Linked DNA regions of Homo sapiens: region 2 is linked to region 1. Evidence: promoter capture Hi-C in human tissues and cell types (Jung and others, 2019). All regions are on one chromosome and are shown on one strand. The core of a region is centred on a gene start or on the middle of the fragment in contact, and the rest is flanking DNA. Distances in the headings are between cores, read along the strand shown. Region 1 holds the start of SRSF7 (serine and arginine rich splicing factor 7). Region 2 has its middle 18 kb from the start of PIRAT1.

The links. The method cuts DNA at HindIII sites, captures the fragments that hold promoters and counts their contacts. A contact is called where the count stands out against the background at its distance.
Region 2: a contact is called between a fragment that was not itself captured here and the fragment with the promoter of SRSF7 in region 1, in 1 of the 25 tissues and cell types used here (hippocampus).

What each region holds. Positions count from the first base shown.
Region 1 is chr2:38,749,086-38,755,326 of GRCh38, forward strand. SRSF7 (serine and arginine rich splicing factor 7) reads right to left here and starts at 2,276. Exons shown (of 8, transcript NM_001031684.3): 1 at 2,144-2,276; 2 at 929-1,109; 3 at 444-620. The coding sequence starts at 2,171. RefSeq lists silencers at 1,361-1,550, 1,761-1,860 and enhancers at 2,721-2,780, 6,124-6,241. The HindIII fragment of the contact is 20,463 bases long and covers 1-6,241 here.
Region 2 is chr2:37,890,404-37,896,644 of GRCh38, forward strand. No RefSeq gene overlaps it. Among named protein-coding and RNA genes, the nearest start is that of PIRAT1, 18 kb to the left of the region's middle. The HindIII fragment of the contact is 6,104 bases long and covers 727-6,241 here.

The sequences.
Region 1 (6,241 bases), core at 1,026-3,525:
TCTGGTGTTCCTCTTTCTAAACCGGAGGGGGGCCCCAATTGTAAGCCAAATTTACTGTTACGGCGATCACCGTCTCAAATTTTCTGCCCTTTAAAGAATAAGGTGAAGCTAGGTGTAGATGACTCGAGGGGATCTGGCCTCTTATGCTGATCACCTCAAGGTCTAGGAGGATCTTAATTGTCGGATTTGCAAGGCGCCTCAGCATGATATCATAAGGCTCGTGACATTCTGAATCAAGGCGACTGACTCAAACGAAGAAACCTGAAAGGTTTTGACCAGGTTGATTATTAATATAGTAACATTTTTTTAATTAAACAAAAATTGTAAAATACACCTGTACAATTAACATTCAAGTTTATAGAAAAACACTAGTTTCTGCCTTGCTAATAAAAGAATTACTTGATTAACTAGAATACCAACCATTCCTTTATTAAAATAAATACCTGCTTCTTCTTCGCCGGCTGTAACGATGACAATCATAAGCATAATGTCCCTTTTCGCCACACTCATAGCATCTATCATTTGGATCAAAGGGACGTCGGGCAGGTGGTCTATCAAAACGTGATCTCCGAGGCATGCCTGTCGATAGTTCAACCCTCACTCGGGAGCCACAAATCACCCTAATAAAAGCAAATTAACAAAATTCTAAAGTTAAAAATATATTCAGGACTTATAGATTTAAAAAGAACTCTTTCCAACCACTCACTCTTTCCAACCACTCCTTCCCCCCCAACAAACTTTGGCGGTCTTTACCAAGCCCTAACTCCATCTCCGCTATCTTCTTTAACCTTCGTGTGCCTTTAGCATTTAACACTATGACCAGCTATTTAAGGTCTCTTCCAGACTTCAGAATCCAAATTTAGCACTAAGTTCATTATCTAGCCACAGTATATTTTAATGAACAGAAGATTCATAACATCTTACTTACTTTCCATCCAGTCCTCGTACTGCATCTTCTGCATCTCTAGGATCTTCGAATTCCACAAAGGCAAATCCTGGAGGATTTCTCGCAATCCATACAGTTCTTAAAGGACCATAATAACTGAAAGCCCTTTCTAACTCTCCTTTGCCAGCGCCAGTTCCCAGGTTACCAACATACACCTTGGTTTCTGTTTAAAAACGCAAATAGAAGAATGCACGTTACGCAAAATCTGGCCCAAGTTTCAATTACTTATTTGCCTTAAAACGGGCCATCCTCAAGATTGGGTAAAGCACATTTAATGCCCTCTATCCAAGACAAAACTTAGTCGTAAAACTGGTGAAAGTCCGCAAATCCCTGAGAAACTAGACTTTTGACAAAATTCTTAACGTTCTAAATAATGCGGGGTGACCCTCCCGAACACAAGCAGAAACGCGTGGTAGGATACACCGAGGCGTGGGGCGGAACCTGGCCCGGCCCCACCCATGAGTCCCGGCAGCCCCGGGCGCACCGGGAGCGCGCGGGCCCGCAGCGGCAGCGGCGTCGGCGGCGGGAGGGCCTCGGTAGGGGCCGGGCCAGGAGAGCAGGGCTGCGCCGGCTCTCGTCCTCCGCGGCAAACGTCCCAGGCACAGGCTCGCCCAAGACTCCAGCTCCCCGCCCCAGAGCCATAAACCGCGCTGGAAATAACTAAAAAAAACCCAGCCGCCAGTCGCAGATTACGTCCCCATTCCCATTCCGCAATTTAACCGATTGTTTGACGAGAACATGCAGCTCACAGCTGCCAATTTCGTTCTATCTCAAACACAACCACGATCTTACAGCTGCGGCCAGATCTGTCCGCTGAAGTGGCGGGAAAGCGCTGAGGAAATGCGCCACCACGGTCCTCAATGTGCGCAAAATGGCAGCCGCCGCCGAGGGCGGGGGGGGAGGGGGGCCGGCGGGCAGCTCCGAGAAAGGCAACGCGAAAACCGTCATCTCAACCCTGCTTTAGGCTGGATTGGGCCACAAAAATGCCCAAGAGTACGGAACTCGGCAGAGATGTACACCCGCCATCCCGTCTCCCTTCAGCACCCCGCCTCCGCTGCCTCCGGCTTCGTCTGGCGTGCTCCTAAGCCGCCATTACGCACGCGGAATAACCGTCTCCCAACCTCCGCGACAACCCTACGGCCTCGCAGTGCTCACTACACCCACACCAACGTCCCTCACCGGACTCCAGCTTCTTACCTCCTCCGTACCGCCCGTAACGCGACATGATGACAGACCCGCGTGCTCGGCTCTTTAGCAAGCAGCGCCCAGGGCTCGAGTGACGCAAAAGCTGACACACACCTTCACCCGCCAAGAGTCCCGGCGGCACTACGAGGAAGAGCCCGGGTTCGCGTTTATATATGCGGCCGCTGCGCTTTGCGCATGCGTCATCTCGTTGTTCTGCGCGGCACAAAGGAGCTGGGCGGAAACAGCCAAGAAACGACGCGGAAGGAACTGAAGAGACTAACACGCGGGTCATGGGCGGAGGGATACGTTTCTATGGGAACGCCACGATCTCTCCAGTAAACCTGAGGCCTTCCCCATGCTGTCCCGCCCCCTCCTCTCCCCGTTTTCTACACCCTCCTTGTCTTCTTTCCCGTCTCCCTACCCTCTGCCTCCTTTCGTTTTTCCCCAGGCTAGGGACCCTCAGCCTTAACAATCTTAGTACGGATGCATTAGACCGGCCTATGAAAGGCTGTACAATTTAACCGCTGATGTTGCAGCCGTCGCGCCCTTCTGCTGGGGGACCTGGCCTAGTCAGCTACTCTGATCTTTGGGGCTCATCAGAGGTAATCGAAGGTTTGGCCATGGTGAAAAGTCCATGAACCCCGCCATTCTGAGTAGTGGTTTTTACACCATAGACCTTGACGCACCCTGGGACTGGTGGTAAAGCCTCCTGTCCTACACGCCCCCTCCAACTTCTTTTGAACCAGTCACCAGTTTGCACCACCACGGTCTGAGTTCTTGGAGTCTGAAAGACAAAGGAATAGAGCTGTGGGGTCCCGCTCCCCCCTCCCCCCTTTATATTGAAATTGTGACAAAACCCTGAATGTTTAAAGCATTTTGGCCAGTGACAATTTGGAAATTATTTGCATCTGAAGCTCAAAGTAACTGATTTGCTTTTCCTAATGCTTTCTGCTTTGTAACACGTGTGATCCACCAATACTCCGATCCTGAGGACTGGGACTCCTAAGTCATCTTTGTGTATCTCCACTCAGTGGAAATAGCAGCCTTGCTGCTCAGCCACTCAACAGTACCAAATAAATGCAAAACTTCTTTACATTAGAATTGCTCTAGACACCAACTACAAATAGAGAAAAAGTTCTTTTTTGCTAGAAACATAGACATTACATCGTAAATTCTTGGAATACACAAAAGTTGGAAATGTACATAAAAAAAGACATTTAGGTATTTGCATTTTTATCTTTTTCGTCTTTTGCAACTTCATTTGGTGAGTATAGGTGTGGAATGGAGAGTACAGGGAAAGCAGGCCTAGTTGGTGAATAAAGCATGGATTCTTTCCAGGTCATGCTATGATTTTATGCATATTTTTTACGTTGATTAAGTTATGGAGAGAATTAATCTCTCTCAGGAAGATCTCTAAGAAGAAAATAGAAGCTCTGTAGAGTATATGTGTTCTCCCTTAGTCTTGGTGATTTTTTTCTTAACAAGGTTCTTCTCAAAAGAAACAATAATTATAAAGATCTATAGGTTCTTCTCAAAAGAATTAAACAATAATTATAAAGACTATATAGGGGCCAGGCGCAGTGGCTCACGCCTGTAATGCCAGCACTTTGGGAGGCCGAGGCGGGCGGATTGCCTGAGCTCAGGAGTTTGAGACCAGCCTGGGCAACACAGTAAAACCCTGTCCCTACTAAAATACAAAAAATTAGCCTGGCGTGGTGGCGTGTGCCTGTAGTCCCAGCTACTCCGGAGGCTGAGGCAGGAGAACTGCTTGAACCCAGGAGGCGGAGGTTGCAGTGAGCTGAGATCGTGCCACTGCACTCCAGCCTGGGCGACAGAGCAAGACTCCATCTCAAAAAAAAAGATTATATGGTATCTGAAAGATAAAATATAAATTCTGTAAAGCCTCACTAAGTTGACTTTCTTCTGTTAAGAAGCTATGAAAATTACTGTTGAGGCCGCGCGCAGTGGCTCATGCCTGTAATCCCAGCACTTTGGGAGGCTGAAGCTGGCGGATCACCTGAGGTCAGGAGTTCGAGACCAGCCTGACCAACATGGAGGAACCCCGTCTCTACTAAAAATACAAAATTAGCTGGGCGTGGTGGCGCATGCCTGTAATCCCAGCTACTCGGGAGGCTGAGGCAGGAGAATCGCTTGAACCTGAGAGGTGGAGGTTGTGGTGAGCTGAGATCTTGCCATTGCACTACAGCCTGAGCAACAAGAGCAAAACTCCTAGGCCGGGCGCTGTGACTCACATCTGTAATCCCAGCACTCTGGGAGGCCGAGGCGGGCGGATCACCTAAGGTCAGAAGTTCAAGACCAGCCTGGCCATGGTGAAACCCCCGTCTCTACTAAAAATACAAAAAATTAGCCAGGCGTGGTGGTGCGCACCTGTAATCCCAGCTACTTGGGAGGCTGAGGCAGGAGAATTGCTTGAACCCGGGAGGTGGAGGTTGCAGGGAGCCGAGATTGCGCCATTGCACTCCAGCCTGGGCAACAAGAGTGAAACTCCATCTCCAAAACAAAAGAGCAAAACTCCGACTCAAAAAAAAAGAAAATTACTGTTGAGCCAAGCATAGATAACTGCTTGAAAGACAGTGCATGTTATACTGTATAATTCCTAATAAACCTCAATAAACTTTTTTTTTTCCAATAAACTTTTTTTGACTCTGAATACAAAGTCTAAGTCAGGTTTTGTGGCTCATGCCGGTAATCTCTGCACTTTGGGAGGTTGAGGTGGGAGGATATCTTGAGGCCAGGACTTTGAGACCAGCCTGGGCAACAGAACCAGACCCCCATCTCTACCAACAAAACAAAACAAAGTCTATAGTTGTACTAAAGAAATTTCTAAGCAAGTAATAGTAAACAGAAGCAGTTTTAAAATTTATAACCAATTGCTTTCAAATCCTGATTCACAGACATGCTTGTCTTGCAGACAGGTGTTCAATAAGCTAATTACATACTGTTTATTCCTATGAAAGCAGGGCCAGTACAAGGCCAGGCTTTGTTAATCTGGTTACCATGAAAAAATAATAGTACTGTATACTATTTCCATAGACTATTCTACTTTCTACTGAACACTCTTTCTCTAAGAACAGGCAACCAATTCTTTTCACTAAATGTCAGTCCAAATCAGGGAGATTTTACTGTGCAGAGAACTTTTATTCCTGCTGATTCTTGTTGAAATCACATTCACCCACATAAGTTTCTGCCTCTAGAAATCTGTTAAATTTAGATTACATTCTCAGATTGTTTGAATATGAAAACTACTTTCTTCAAATATTGTAATATTTCCTAATATGAAATATTAGTTATTAACATGTTACTATTGTTAAATTTTAAAAATATTATTAGTTTAGGAAAGGGGAGTAATTCATAAGCCTTTTACAGCAGTTTTCAAAATGTATCTGCATTTTCTACATTTGGTATTTCCAGATAAATATTAAAGAAAAAGTTCCCTTTTTAATCGTACTTCTCTCACCATTTCAGTTTCACTTTTAAGTCATTATCACCATTTGAGCTTGGATGTGAAAACGTTAAAACAAGAAAGGAAAAAAAATTTAAATGTTTTGCACATTAGTCTATTTTGTTTGTTTTTTTGTTTTTAAGGCAGGGCAAGAAGTGGGCAGACCTCAGACTCCGCCTCCTGGACCCCAACTTCCCCCTCTGCCACACCAATATTCTATTTTTAATATAAATAAGTAGTCTATGCTAAAAAATACTAGTCTTTTTTTTTTTTTAATTTTATTTTTTGAGACAGAGTCTTGCTCTGTCGCCCAGGCTGGAGTGCAGTGGCACGATCTTGGCTCACTACAACCTCTGCCTCCCAGGTTCAAGTGATTCTTGTGCCCCAGCCTCCAAAGTATTATAGGCATGAGCCACCATGCCCAGCTAATCTTTGTAATATTAGTAGAGACGGGGTCTCGCCATCTTGGCCAGGCCGGTCTCGAACTCCCGACCTAAAGTGATCCACCCAACTTGGCATCCCAAAGTGCTGGGATTACAGGTGTGAGCCACCATGCCTGGCCTATAGTCTATTCTTTTTTTTTTTTTTTTTTAATTGATCATTCTTGGGTGTTTCTCACAGAGGGGCATTTGGCAGGGTCATAGGAC
Region 2 (6,241 bases), core at 2,529-5,028, 860 kb before region 1:
CAAAACCCCAGCAATTCTACTCCTACGTATATACCCTAGAAAATCTCTTGAAAAATTCTCCAGGTGCAAGACTGTCCATAGCAACATTGTCCCTAACAGGAAAAAAGAAACAAACAAAAAACCGAAAAACCTAAATGTCCATCAATATAAGAGATAAGAGTACGTAAGTTGTTCATACAAGGCACTTATCTTCACACACGTGAATCCACATGGGAGAGTCTCAAGGTTACCTATGGGGAGAGGAAGGGATATGAGATGGGAGGGGTGCACAGGGATGCTGGTGACATTCTGTTTTTTAACCTAAGAGGTGTTTGCACAGCTATTCACAGTGTTTATTCTTCTTTGAAATGTGCATATATTTTATATATGCACTGTCATATTATCTATGTTCCCAATAAAACATTTTAACAGATATTATTCTCCTAATAATCCTATTTGTCATCTTGGTTTAAGGAAGTGCAATGGAAGATTCTGCATACTTGGGGGGAGCAGTTCCCATATCACATGGGCTGTGTGTTAAAAATTCAGACTGCCAGCCCCTACCCAGGCTACAGAATCAGAATGTCCAGGGTGGGGCTGAGGCAGCAGTGTCCAGGGGCACTCAGGGGTGCTGTGGTCATTTTTTCCCAGGTCATTTTCTATCTGAACCTATTGGTCCATCCCAGAGCACCCAGCCCTCTGCAGATCCGCCAGCGTCGGTGGCTTCCTACTGCCCTCTTGTGGCCGGTTTTTCTACCCAAACTGGGCAGAGTCTGACAGCCAAGCGCCAGGGAGTAGACAGAATGTGTTCTGGGATCAGGGGTCTGTCTGGATTTTGTGGTGGCTCCGAGGACCTGCATAGTTGAGCTAGATGCCAAAACATGACACCTAGAACCCACTAGCTTGTCTGTTATTTTTGTTGAAGTCCTATGGATCCATAGACCCCTCCTGGCTGCTCCAAACCCTCGTGTGCTTGGTCCCCACCACCCACAGGGATCCCCTTTCTCTGGGTTCGCCTTCCCACCCACACCTGTCATGCACACACACCTTCCCTACATTATCTGGTCTTCATTTCTGCCTAAACAAATATGTATGGTCTAACCAGATCTCTGGTCCTGGTCTCTGCTGGACGATCTTATTCTGTCCTTCGATTCCACAACACCAGGGCTGTTGTGAGACAGATGAACGCTTAAGACCAGGACCCAGTTGGACACACTCAGTACCTACTGCTTTCTCACCCCCATTCTCCTTTCTATTCCATTTCGCTTTCTCTTCCTCGATCTGTCAGGGTTTCTAATCCTGACAATGAGCTTGAAATGGTCAGGTTTACTCAGAGAAAAAAAAACAAAACAGGCAATTGGTATCACTCAAAGAAGAGCCTAGACCAGGTCTCAGGGGCAGATTCCAAGTATGTAGAGTCCCCACTCACTCGCCTTACCTCTGTCCGCAGCTCAGACGCCGTGTGAATCCTAAATTTAGACCCTGCTATAACATGTGGCTACTGACCTCCAGAAAGGCTCCTCCCCAGAAAGTCATAACCCACCCAAGGGAAGGCAGTGCAGTATAATGATTAAAAATATGAATTTGGAATGATAATTTCATTGGAATCTCTGTTTGCTTATATGTTGGGTGGGCTTGGGCCACTTATTTTTACATCTCTAAACCTCAACTCCCTCATCTGTAAAATGGGCTAATGATATTTAACTCACAGATTGTTGTGATTATCAAATGAGACACTGCATTTTTAAAATGCTTATCACATTTCATAACTAGGAAGCACTTAACAGACACCGTCATTATTCGTTATGAAGTCCAGACTTTGTAGGACTCAAAGGACTCTATCTCAGGGGTGGAATCATCTGGAGCCCTGGCACCATCGGTTGCCCAAGGCTCCTTTCTGAACAGCCAGGTCCCTGGGAATTCTCTAGGGAATGAAGTTGGACTTCATTCAAACTTCATTCTTCTTCTTCGAACTCCACCATGATTCTGGCCTAGAGGCTCTGACCTCCCGCCCAGAGATCACACTGCCTCTCCTCAGTCTCATCCTGTCAATCAAGTCGACTACGGGACCTGCTCAGTCAGGAGCGTGCACTCCACTTTCTCTTCTATTCTCCTGCTGGCTTCCTCTCCTCCACCACCCCTTTCCTCTCACTTACTTTCAGCTGCCAAGAATAAGATACTGTTTTACCCACATCTATCTACTGTCACTCAGTCGGGGACTGGGGCTTCCTGAATCAGCACAACTTTTTCTAATTAGGTTTGCCATAGTTGCATGCTTCAAATGTAGTGGTTGAATTCCTCAAAGAAACTCTTCAGGAGGAAGGAAGGGTGTGGCAGATTATGCCACCCCAAAATATGCCACTTTGGCGTGTTAAAAAAAAAAAAAAAACCACTTCAGCAGAATTAAATTTAAGGGAGTTTAATTGAGCAATGAACAATTCACAAATTGGGCAGCCAACTCAGAGAGACTCCAGGAGTGCCTTGTGGTCAGAACAAATTTATAGACAAAAAAAAAGTAAAGTGACATATAGAAATAGGAAGTGAGAAACAGCCTGACTAGCTACAGCTTGGCGTTTGCCTTATTTGAACACAAGTTGAACACTCAGCAGTGTATGAGTGGTTGAAGTATGGCTGCTGGGATTGGCCAAGACTCAGTGACTGTTACAGGTGCATACTCCTAGTTAGGTTTTCAGTCTCGTCTACCAGTTAAGCTAGGTTGCAGTTCATCCACAAGGACTCAAATATAGAAGTACAGAGTCCTTCTCAGGCCATATTTAGTTTGCTTTAACAGACGTAAGGATTATTCTGAGCTGATGATAATTAAGAAGTGGACAGAAGAAAAACTCTGCTCTCCTTTTTTCTTCCAGGAAGGGCAGGACAGTTCTTGGTCCCCTGAGACAACCGTAGATCCTATATCCCACACACTAGACCAGAGGAACAAACTTGACCAACCAGCCCTTACCGTCCATGAGTTTCCCATTTATCTTCCCACAACTTGCTACCCCATGAAGTCCAGAGTGCTTTTCCTTTCTCTTGTTAATTCTCTACAAAAGTATTGGGTTTTTTTGTTAAGATGTTATATAAGCCCAAGTTCTAACAATCCCTTTGAGTTACTCATCTCTAGGTACCTCCATGTGTATGTGTGACACATGCTAATAAACTTCTGTTTGTGTTTCTCTGGTGAAGGTGCTTTTTTGTTAGTCTAATATACAGGGCCTCAGTGGGAGAACCTAAGATGGCTAGAGGGACAAGATTTGCTTTCCTCCCCTATAAAAGCAACCCAGGGGTGGGTAGGAGGAAGAGGCAGGTAGTGCTCTGTTAGGAAGTTCTCTGTGCACAAGTTCAGCATCCCTAGAAGGCCTCTACTCCTACCCTCAGTCCTGCTTTGTTTATTCAATGCTTTCTTCCTCCTGTCCTCCCAAGTCAAGTATCTGCGTAAGGCTACCTCCTACTTGAAGTTAGCAACCCCTGGGCTGCTGACATGGCCCATTCCTACAAATGATGGCATTGATTAGAATTCACACTCAAAGCAAATTTTGCCTGATTTATTGGAGAAGTTTCCTTAAATCCTCCTTCTGTTCTATGTCCTCTAGGCCATTGAGCCTGGAGTGTCATTGAGAGTACTGTGAGCAATCTTGCCTTGCAGTTAACCACTTAATAAACTCTTTATTCATAAGTAGATGTTGGGGGAAAAGGATAACTTCACAGTAATCACATAAGGACTGGATTATGGCCCCAGCTCCACACTCATTGGCTACGTGATCTTTGTAAGTCATTTTCCCCTCCCTGGGTTCCTCATCTGCCAAATGCGAAAGCTGGGCTGGATGGGTAAGAGCCCTCTTCCAGCTCCGATGTTTCAACATCAGGTTCGCCCGCACACTAGAAACTCAGATTTGCACTGCGCTTCTGAGAAGCTCCAGTCCAGTCATTCAGACAGTCTGATTTATCCCTCGATACCACTTCAAGGGTAGGTTCTTGACTTATCTAAAACTCAGATACCAGAGGATGACTTACTTGAGGTTACAAAGTAAATCACTGTCAGAGGCCAAAACAGCAACTCAGCCTTTCCAACCAGCTTTCCTCCATCAAGACAGCCCAAGGAGAAAACAACCCTCAATGCCACCCCCATACTGGATAACTTTGTATCCATGCAAAACTCCTTTTAACTGACATTTTAACTTTCAAAATTGTGTGTATGTAAACATGTAGCCCATCACCATTCAAAACTCTCCTTTAACTGGTACGAAAGAGCATTTGAAAATTGTAATGAAACTGTATCTGTCAGCTTTTTATTTCCATTTAAAAAATGAAAAACAAGACAAAAAAAAAACAACTAGAAACTGCAGTTTAGATACACAGCCCACACACCGAGCAGGCCCCGATGGCACTGATTCAGTGTGGGGTGGTTAGTAATTGGCAGCTCTTCATTTTAGAAGCTGCATGTGTTATACACAAAGCTCGCTGGTACAGGAATCAACACTGGCTCAGCCCCTAGTATCAAATCCTCAAAGGCCACTCAGACTCCCAGAAGGGAAAAACCCTGAAAGCCAACATTTTTTCCCAAGGCAACACTATATTATCTTTGACATTCTGTTCCCTTGTCTAAGAAAAGAGAATCCAATTCTTCCTGCTTTCCCAGAGCAGTATTTGAACTGTTAGAAGCAATACTTGTTTCTTATTTTCTTCTATCAAGATCACAACTTTCACGCAACTTTGTCAAAGTAAATTAGGGATTTTGCAAGAGCCAGTGGGCAGGTAGTTTCTTGTTAGATATTTATGCCTAACTGTGTCACCATTATTTTTACAAATAGGCTTGTCCATCTCAGATGGTTCTCAGTAGTCGCCTAGGTAGAAAAGCAAGCAAGAGCTCCTGAAACCCTCCAGGATGGAGTTGGGAGCTAGGGAAGCAGAAGTGCTAAGAGGGCCAGAGACCAGAGAAAGCTTGTGGTTGGGCCAAAAAAGGAACAAAATGCTAGACCTTGAAACTAAAGGCCGTGGAAATGACCACAGACATCTGTAGCAAAAGCCAGAGCATGAACCCAAAGACAGAGGCGAAGGTGAGGGCTGGAAGCCAGAAACAAACTCCTATCATGGGAAGTAAATGGGAACAGAGCATGGCCACATGGTGGATGAGCCTCCCCAAGAGCTTAAGAGCTTAGCACACCCCCAGGAACAGCAGAGAAAGTGAGCAGGCAGGGGAAGAGTCCCAGATTTGACTGAGCCCTTACCCAACAGAGATTTTAAAATCTGCAAGTAGGCCGGGTGTGGTGGCTAATGCCTGTAATCCCAGCACTTTGGGAGGCAGAGGCAGGTGGATCATTTGAGGCCAAGAGTTCAAGACCAGCCTGGCCAAAATCATGAAACCCTATCTCTACTAGAATTACAAAAATTAGCTGGGCATGGTAGTGTGTGACTGTAGTCCCAGCTATGGGGAGGCTAAGGCACAAGAATCCCTGGAACCCACGAGGCGGAGGCTGCAGTGAGCCAAAATGGCGCCACTGCACTCCAGCCTCGGTGACAGAGCAAGACTCTGCCTCAAAAAAAAAAAAAAAAAAAAAAAAAAAAAGAAAAAAAACTGCAAGTAACTGAGTTACTTTGAATTGGCCATTTTAACTTCCTCCTCTGTATTGCTGGCCAGAATTAAGGGTTCCATCACTAAATACAGTTATGGATGAATAGAGAAAGTGACATTTCTGCATAGTTTAATTTTTTGACTGTGAAAGGCTTACCTGCTATACTAGCCACGTTTTGTTTTATTGAAAGATGTTAGTAAATGTCTATAAAATATTTATTGCCCCCCACCAACAAAGCTAAGGCAGTTGTCAGCATCTCTTACAGCAAATCTAATCCAGAAGCATACTAGAATAATTTAGCTTTGACAAAACGAGGGATTTTTTTTCTTAGGATCCTGAGAGACCAGAATACACCACCCAGAAACATGCCTCTTTGGCCTCCAGATTGTTTTGTGCTGAAGGCAATTACAAAGAAGCAGATGCAAGAAAGCTCTCTGCCCTCCATCTATTTGCCTAAAAGCAGGACATAGATTTAGAAAGATAGATGTAGCCTGCCCCACCCTCTCTACCAGGGAGGACAAGAGTTAACCGCTGAAGACAACTTTGAACCGTTACTGGCCTGGAGATGGCACCACAGGAAGGTGCATTAACAAGCCTTACTAAGTTGCCTTTCTCTGCCATTTATTCGCTTTCTCCCAATTTGCTGCCCCTAGAGACTCACAGTCCTTTTTTTTTTTTTTTCTTGTCAC